2 separate regions of the Homo sapiens genome follow, and region 1 is linked to region 2. The links are contacts of gene promoters, found by promoter capture Hi-C in blood cells and fetal thymus (Javierre and others, 2016). All regions are on one chromosome and are shown on one strand. Each heading gives the region's core, a stretch centred on a gene start or on the middle of the fragment in contact. The rest is flanking DNA. Distances are from core to core; before and after follow the strand shown.

The links. The method cuts DNA at HindIII sites, captures the fragments that hold promoters and counts their contacts. A CHiCAGO score of 5 or more calls a contact.
Region 1: a contact is called between the fragment with the promoter of SAMD4B here and the fragment with the promoter of ACP7 in region 2, in 3 of 17 cell types (total CD8 T cells, naive CD8 T cells and total CD4 T cells). The highest score is 6.8, in total CD8 T cells.

What each region holds. Positions count from the first base shown.
Region 1 is chr19:39,340,747-39,344,979 of GRCh38, reverse strand. SAMD4B (sterile alpha motif domain containing 4B) reads right to left here and starts at 2,559. Exons shown (of 14, transcript NM_001384574.2): 1 at 2,404-2,559. RefSeq lists a silencer at 2,441-2,870. The HindIII fragment of the contact is 6,593 bases long and covers 2,187-4,233 here.
Region 2 is chr19:39,082,267-39,086,826 of GRCh38, reverse strand. ACP7 (acid phosphatase 7, tartrate resistant (putative)) reads right to left here and starts at 2,459. Exons shown (of 13, transcript NM_001004318.3): 1 at 2,427-2,459; 2 at 1,437-1,735. The coding sequence starts at 1,557. RefSeq lists an enhancer at 2,106-2,606. The HindIII fragment of the contact is 23,028 bases long and covers 1-3,653 here.

The DNA.
Region 1 (4,233 bases), core at 1,310-3,809, 260 kb before region 2:
CTATAGGGGAAGGGATTATTTGGTGAGGAGGTCCTCAAAGGGGAGAAGGAAGAAGGCTTCTGAAAGGGAAATGGGGAGAATCCTAAGTCTCTAAGGAGGGTGTTAAGGGTCTCTTGATCTCTGAAGGGAAGAGGGGTCTATGAGCATGGCACCTAAGAAAAATGGTCTGAAAGAAAGATCTCGGAGCACTGGGATTTCAAGGGGGCGGGGAAAGGTGTCTCTCAAGAATCTTTACAAGGAAACATAGAGGCTCTTGGGCAACGAGTCTGGAGAATGTTGGGGACCTCTGAAGGGATAATGGGAAAAGGGGGCCCCCTGAGAAAGGTCTCTGAGTTGACTTCAGAGGAAAGAGAATGGGGAAATGAGAGGGTGTAAATAGCAATTCTAAAGTTAGTGGGTAAATCTGATAGGGTCCTAAATAATGTTTCTTGGGGATGTCAGAAGTGGAATCTGAGGGAAAGTTCTGAGGAAGTCTCAGGAAGCGCTGGGAGTGGGTGGCTGATGGAGGGCAATTTGGGAGAAAATTCTCTAAAAAGTGTCTGAGGAAGGTGTGGTCTTCTGAGACTGGTCCTGGAGTGGGATGACAGAGGGATGTTTTTAGGAAAAACTCTTCAGAGATCTCAGTTGAGGAGAAAGCTGAGTAAAGTCTCCAAAAGAGTATATGGGGAAGGCGGGGTCTTCTGAGAGAGTGTCAGAGGAGAGGGTTTTTCAGAAAGAATTATAGGACTTTCTCAGAGCAAGAGCTCGGGTTATTTTGGGGGAAAATTAGGTGTGTGTGAGGGTCTTCTTCAAGGGATTCTAGAGGATTTAGGGGACCTGTGTGAGCAAGTTCAGGGAGGGATATCTCTAGAAAAGTCCCTTAGTAAGGCAGAAGTATTGATTCAAGGGGTTCTGGTGGTGTCAGGAAGGTCTTGGAGGGATTTCAAGAACATACGTCAGGAGGGCTCCAGGGGGTCGCTGGGGTCTCTAAGCTGTGTGTGTGTGTGGGGGGGGGGGGTCCTGAAAACCTGCATATCAGAGGGGTCACCAAGAGAATCTTACGGTCTTACAGGGGTTGTGAGGAGGATCTTCAGAAAATTCCTCTAAAACCGGTCTGCAAGGGGGGATTCTGAGGTGTTAGTGAAGGGGAGTTCTACGGGATCTGAGAGAAAAACCATGAGGAAAGTTTTCAGGATCCTTAAACAATTTTTGGAGCGTGTGATGTGGGGGACTGGAAAAGATGTGGAGTATGTAAAAGGGATTTTGGAAGAAGCTTTTGGAATATGATGCTGAGAGTCCTCTGGAGATTTCAGGCAATTGCTGGAGATTTTTAGAATGAGTGGGGGTGGGGAAGGGGATCCCGGTGAAGATCACTGGGCTACATGAGGGTGATCTCTAGGGCATTTTAGGGTGGTGAGACCAGGGGGAGACAGGAGGCCTCTGGGGGAGACTTTTGGGATCTGTGGAAAGGTCCAGAGGGATACGTGAAGGGGGAGTGTGTATGAGAGATGGTTGCAATACGGTGGGGAGGGGGATGGAGTCTTCTAGGTGAGTTTTTGGGATCTGGGGGCATTTCACAAAGTCTGTGAGGAAGATTTATTTTGGGGATATGGGAAGGAGATCTTCAGGGAAGATGATCACGGTCCGTCGGGGGCATTCTGAAGGACTTCTGGGAGGGGGAATCAGAAATGCAGGGGGTATGAGCGGAAAATCTCCAAGGAGGTTTCTGGAATGGGGTAAGTGGGAGGGAAAATTCTTAGGATCCGGGAGGGGGAAGTCGGGTGAGCCTGTTGGGCTGTGAGAGGCAGGGCTCCGGGGGAGAGTTCTGGAATGGACAGGGGTCCGGAGGGAGCCTTGGGGAGGTGTGCAGGGCTCGTGAGGGAGGCTCCTGGAGCAGCTATGAGAGCCACGCTGTGGAATGGACGAGGAGTGGCCTCCGAGGACTATTTCTGGAGACAGGAGGAGGACGGGGGCTTCGGGGCCAAAGGGCGGGGGTCTGCGAGGAAAGCTGCTGGGACCCATGAAGGGCTCGAGGAGGCGACTCCACGGGAGGGGTGGGTTTTGCGGGGACCTTTCAGGGCGCACACGGGGGATCGGCAGGCTTTCCGGGGCTCTCCGAGGGGGATGTGCGGGGGGTCCTGAGGAGAGGCCCCCGGCCCGGCCCCTCGGCAATCCCGAGGGCATGAGAAAGATTTCGGAGGGAAGCTTCGGCCAGGGCCCAGGAGGGAGACTGGGGACGGGCGCGGGGCTTCTCCCGTGGGGCCCGGCCCCCCGAGGCCCGCGTTCCGCACCCGCCCGCCGCCGCCGCCCGCGGTTCGGGGTCCCTGAGGGGGCGGGGCCGCCCGCGCGGCCTGGGTCGCCCTGAGGGGAGCCCCGCGCGCCCCGACTCGCCGCCGCCCCGCGCCGGCCCGGCCCGAGACTCACCGCCTCGGCCTTCGCCGCCACCGCCGCCGCTCGGGCCTCCTCAGGCCACCGCCGCCGCCGTCGCCCCCTCTCGGGCCCGCAAGCTCCCCTCCCTCCTCCCGCACCGACCACCGCCGCCGCCGCCGCCGCCGCCGTCGCGCTGCGTCACCGCGCCGTGCGTCACCGCCCCTGGCCCCGCCCCGACGGGGGCCGCCGCGCGCCGGCATTAGCTCACGCCCGGGTGACGAACGGCGCGCCAGCCAACGGGCGGCGAGGGCAGCCCGAAGGGCGGGAGGTGTGAGCCGAGTAAGGCGGGGTCGCGGCGAGGGGGGAGCGACGGTGGTGGAACGGGGCCCAAGAGGCCCGCCCCCTCCTCGGCGGGATTGGTCGGACGTGGGGGTGACGGGCAGTCGGCCAGGCCTGGGGTTTGGGGCTGGGGGGCGGGGAAGGGGCGGGGCGCGCGGGGCGTTGCCCAGGGCAACGGGCCCGGCGGAGTCTGAGGTTGGGCCTCCAGGCCCGCAGGGGGCAGGCTCGCGCGCGTCCACCCCAGCTGCCCCGAGCGAAGTCACAGTTCCTGATTCAGGCGTTCCAGGCCTCCTCTTCCCCGCCCCTTGGGTGGCCCGCCTCACCCAAGGCTGTCCTCAGTGGGCGTCTGCACTCGGGCTTCTGGGCGCTCGGCTTTCTCATCGCGCTGTTCTCAGCCTTGCCGCTTGCTCTCTCCGATGGGAATGGCGAGGCGAGATCTAGCCTTTAGGGTGGGAAGAGAATGCACAGAAAGCGCTAAGGATCAAGGAGGCTGTCAATAAACGGGAGTTGTTGCTGTGACTTTGGTTGTGATCTGTGCGTTCCACAAACTGTATTGGGTCCGGGTGAACTAATCAGAGGGACCTGTGTTCAGAAGGCTCTCGGTGACAGAGATCTGGCTTGTTACAGGCACTTAGAGAGGCAGTCGGGATGGAGGGTCGAGTTGAAGACAGGGAGGGGTGAGGAACGAGCAGAGGCCAGTTGTTTGGCCACTTGAGGGAGTTTGGACTTGTCCCGAGGGCACTAGGGAGCCGTGAAGGGCTTCAAGCCGGGGAGGATCATGGTGAGTCTGGGGTTTTGGAGAGATGTCTCTCTGGCTTATACATGGAGGGCGGATTGGAGGGAATGAAACGGGATCGGGAGTCCAGGGAGGCAGCTGGGGGAGGGGGTGGGGAAGAAAGAGGGGGTTTGCACGAGGGAGGGACTGTGGGGAGGGAAGGAGGTGCAGGTGGGAGGGACGCCCTGGAGGCAGAGCGAACGGGCCCTGACACTGGCTGGCTATGGAGTGGAAGGGGGAGAAAAGTTTAGGACCAGGCCCCTCTAGCCGGGAGACTGGGCGCCAGAAGCAGGTTGGGAAGATACTAAGCCCAATGTGGATGCCTAGTAGCGAGGTCCAGGAGGTGCACAAACCCTGGGTCTGGAGCTTAAGGGAGAAATTGAGGCTGGAGACCAAGATTTAAGGATCGTCAAAGATGGTAATTGAGGCTGTGGGAGTTAGGGGTCTAGCCCGGGGAGGGTATGAAGGGTCACTGGAGACAGGGACTGAACAGAACCCTGAAACAGAGAGGCAGGATTTGAGCAAAGGAATTGACGCTGTCGATGAATATTGCAAAAGGCAGCCAGAGAGAGGAAAACCAGGAGAGTGTGGCATTATAGACGCTTTGAGGAAAGGCTGTTTCACCAGGGTGGGGCCATGTCACAAACCCCATCCACTACCTCCTGCATTTAAGCAACAGCCTTCACACTGCATAGAATTATTGTGCTCATTAACTGCTGGTTCATTAATTCATTCAATAATATTTCTTGACTATCTAATATGTGCCAGGC
Region 2 (4,560 bases), core at 1,210-3,709:
TTGCTAGCTGTAATGCACATAAACTAAAGCTCTTTGAACTTCTCCATAAATTTTAGTTCTCCATAAAATTTAGTGATGTAAAATGGTCCTGAGATTAACAGTTTAAAACAAACAGTCCTGAGATTTAAAGTGTATGGAAATTGCTGCTACATGCCAAGCTCCGTTCTATCCCCCTCCCCCCCCCCTTTTTTTTTTTTGAGACAGGGCCTCATTCTGTCAGCCAGGTTGGAGTGTAATGGCATGATCTTGGCTCATTGCAACCTTTGCCTCCTGGGCTCAAGCGATCCTCTTGCCTCAGCTCCCCAAGCAGCTGAGACCAGGCGTGAGCCACCATGCCCAGCTAATTTTTTAATTTTTTTGTAGAGACCGGGTTTCACCCATGTTACCCAGGCTGGTCTTGAACCCCTGAGGTCAAGTGATCCACCCACCTCAGTGTCCCAAATTGCTGAGATTACAGGCATGCACCACTGTGCCTGGCCTCCTCCACATTTTTTTTTTTAAAGACAGGGTCTCTCTCTGTTGCCCAGGCTGGAGTGTAGTGGCCAATCATGGCTCACTGCAGCCTTGAACTCCTGGGCTCAAGCGATCCTCCCACCTCAGTCTCCCAAGTAGCTGGGACTATAGGTGCATGCCACCACACCTGTCTAAGATTTTTTCTTTTTCCCTAAGAGGCAGAGGTCTCACTATGTTTCCTAGGCTGGTCCCAAACTCATGAGCTCAAGTGATCCTTCCGCCTCAGCCTCCCAAACTGCTAAGACTACAGGTGTGAGCCCCCACACTCAGCCTCAGTTCTGCCCCTTTACAGGTAGCAACTCATTTACACCTCACCATGAGGTTGTACTAATATTACCCCATTATCCAGATGAGGAGACTGAGGACAGAGAGGTTAAGCCACTTGCCCAAGATTAGGCAGCAGGTACATAGCAAAGCTGGGATTCTAACCCACGTGGTCTGGGTGCCAATGGTCCAGAGTCCAAGCTCTTACTCCCACAGTGGAAGGATCCTAATCAAAGATCGGGAGGCAGTCAGCCTCGTGGGGAAGAGGAGAAGAGGGATGGAGAAGGGGCTGGGTAACCCAGCTCTGTTATCATTCATCCACTGGTTCCTTCCACAACTGGCTCTGAGGCCTACCGTGCATGAACGAACAAACGTGCCAGGTCCCGGAAACACAACAGAGATGCAATGAACAAGGACAGCAGCGGTCCCCTTTTGAGAGCAGGGGAGCACTCTCTGTGGGCTGAGCACCATGATCATTCCCCACACTTCCAGGTGTTCCACAGCCTGTACTTCCTATTCCACAGAGGTGGATGATGGAGGCTCAGGAGGAATGAGCCACCCGCCTAGGGGCTCACAGTGTGGGATTCCTGAGCCCTCAAACAACGAAGCACCGCTGGGCCTCTCTGGTAGAGGCATAGAAATGAGTCAGGGACACTTACCTGGGTAAGACAGATGGACTTGCTCTGGGGCAGCGCTGGGAGCCCCCAGGGACCCCTGGACTCCCAAGGAGAATAGCAGGAGTAGACAGTAACAGGACCAGTAGCCAGGAAGGGGGTGCATGGTGGTGGGGTGGTGATGGCAGACCGGGGAAAAGCAGGGGGACTGAGGAGATCAGCTCCCCACAGGTACAGCAGGAAGGGCTGGGAGGATGGGGAACAGAGGATGATCAGGCAGTGCTCTGGGGGACAACAGAGGCAGGGCAGGGAGGTCTCCTTCAAGATGGGTGGTTATCCAGGTGCTGGAGAGAGAAACCAAAAATAAGAATCGCTAAGGAACAGCAGCAGAGCTCTCTGAGCCTCACTCACAGTGTGCCAACCGCTTGACATAGATTAATTCACGGAAGCCTCACGACATTGCTATGAAGTGGTGGCTGTGAGCATTGTCATCCCCATATCACAGATGAGGAAACCGAGCAGCTGAGTGATTCAGCTGCACAGCTAGGATGGGATGGAGCCAGGATTTGAACCCAGGAGGGCCTGATTCCAGAGCCTTGCTCCTAACCAGAGCTCACTCTCAGTGCTGGGGGTCTGGGAGCGGGGTGGAGGCTGTGTAGGAGGTTGCATTCCGCAGCCCCATCCCCAGCTTTCCATCCTGCTGTTAGAAACCCCAGTTCTCCTACCTACTCCCGAGATTCCAAGCATTCCCGCCTGCCCCCGGGACCTCGCCTCCCTACTCCATCCTTAGCCTTCTATTTTGCTCCTAGTGACCCCAATCCTCCCACACCACCCCCAGATCCTTTAGAGCCCATCATGGCCAGAGCGGCCGCATCCTCTCTCCCCATCCCCAGCGTCCCTGCCCTTCCCCCATCTGTACCCACCCCCCTTCTCTCCAGCGCTTTCCCGCCTGCTCCAGCTCCGTCTCCAGCTGCCAGGATGGAGCCGGGTCGGGACCATCCGGGAAAGGGGACGCCCTCCCGGACCCCGGCTCACCCTCGGGGGCGCCGGCTGCCCGCACGCGCCTCTCCCGCCACCAGCGCCGCCCCGGTATTTATGAGTTCGCGGGTGCCGAGGCCTCTTGCCGCCTACAGCCGTCCCAGCCCCGGAAGAGCCGGTCGCCTCGGGGTGACAGCCTCCCTAGACAGCCAGGGCCCCGGGTCCCACAGGTCCGGCCGGTCCTGCCTGGGCGCCCCACACCCACCCGCCCACCCCACCAGGGCGTGGCGCGGGAAGGGGGACCCAGGAAGGTTATGATACGTCTCCGGCGCGCCACCTCTGAGCCGGCCACCAGGTGAGAGCCCAGGCAGGTAACCCTGCGCTCGTCCCTCAGGCGCCCACTCATCAGCTGGGGAGCCCCAGGGCACGGACACCGGCCCCTATCCTGGCCCTGCCCGATCCCCAGGTACCCAGGTGTGCAGGACCGGGGGATCCCCAACCTTTCCAGCCTCGCTGCATCTTCCTCCAGCCTTCCGGCTTCCTTCCTTTCCATGCTGAGCCCACTGACCCCTCCTCAGAAGCCCGGGGCAACCTCAAAACAAAACCAGAATCCCGGAATTGCAGTGGGCTTTCTGAGCTGTGCGACCTAGGTGAGTTATTCAACCTCGCTGGACCTTGGGTTTTTTCACCTGTAAAAAGGAGGTGATGCTCGTATATACCCCGTGGGCTGTTGTGAGGAGTAAACGAGTTGCTGCATGAAATTTCATGCCGATAACAGGGCCCGGCCCAGAGTAAGGGCTGGATAAGAATCAGCTGTTCTTTTTAATCGTATTAATGCAGGAACTCCAGAAACTGACGTCTAGGGAACAAGTTAGGGTTCTCCCCTGTAAACCTTTGCAATCTGTTTGAACGTGAGGAGCGGCTGCCACAAAAAGAGAAGCAGGGAAGAACTGGGGGGGCCCGGATTTCCAGTCGTTTCCCCTTCCTGACTGCAGATACAATGACCCGCCACCACTTGGCTTTGTAAATTCAGAGCACATAGGCTTCTACTGATTGTGGACACCAATTTCAGAAATTGGCACTAGGAGTGTGGGAAAATCAAAACGAGCCCTTTGCACTGTTTGAGTTTTTTTTTTTTTCTTCCCACTTCCAGAGTCTCCATTACAGCCTAAAATATAATGAAAGTAGCTCTCATAACCAAACTTGAGTACCTGCCACTCCTGTGGCCCCCAATTATAACCTCCCCGTATTCTTAGTTCGTCCAGAATGGGAGGTTCCTAAGCTTTTTTGTGCTAAAGATGCCTATGGCAAGCTGGTCAAGCCCTTCTCAGGATCATGTCGTTACATGCATAATATAAATACACAGAAATACAAAGGAAACCAGTGCTATTGTGATACAAGGTGTTGGGGGGTTTTTTTGTTGTTGTTGTTTTGTTTTTGTGTTTGTTTTTTGGTTTTGTGTGTGTGTGTGTTTTGTTTTTGTTTTGAGACAGAGTTTCACTCTGTTGCCCAGGCTGGAGCACAGTAACACGATCTTGGCTCATTACAACCTCTGCCTCCTGGGTTCATGCGATTTTCGAGCCTCAGCCTCCCGAGTAGCTGGGACTACAGGCATGAACCTGGCTGAAAACGAGAAGTTTTAAAAACACACGAATATACATGCATATATTTCTATTAGCCATCAGAGTGATGACATTATCACAGGTCAGGTAGTCTCTGGAGAATGAAAAGGACAAACGTCTTAATATCATTATGAAAATACTTTTGACCTCACTAGCCCCTGAGAAAGGTCTTGCGGACCCACAGGTGCCCCCAGACCACATTTTGAGAACTGCTAGATTAAAGTGTAGTAAAAGGAGAGGTAAAAAAAGTTTCCCCTATCCAAGTTCACGTAGCTCCTGAATTCCCAACCACCAGCCCAGGTGAAAAGAGCCCACTGGAGTTGCCTCTGGTTGGACCCTGACTGGCGGATGAGGGCTTATAGCTCAGGTATAAGCTTGCGGTGGGGAATGGAGCATCGACTCTGGGGCTAGATGGCCTGGTTATAAATCTATCTTCAGCACTGACTAACTTAGACAAGTGATTTAACCGCACGGTGCCTCGGTTTCCCCATCTGTGAAATGGGAACAATAGTAGCACCTTATAGGGTTGTTGCAAGGATTAAATAATAAACCCCTTAGAACAGTGCCTA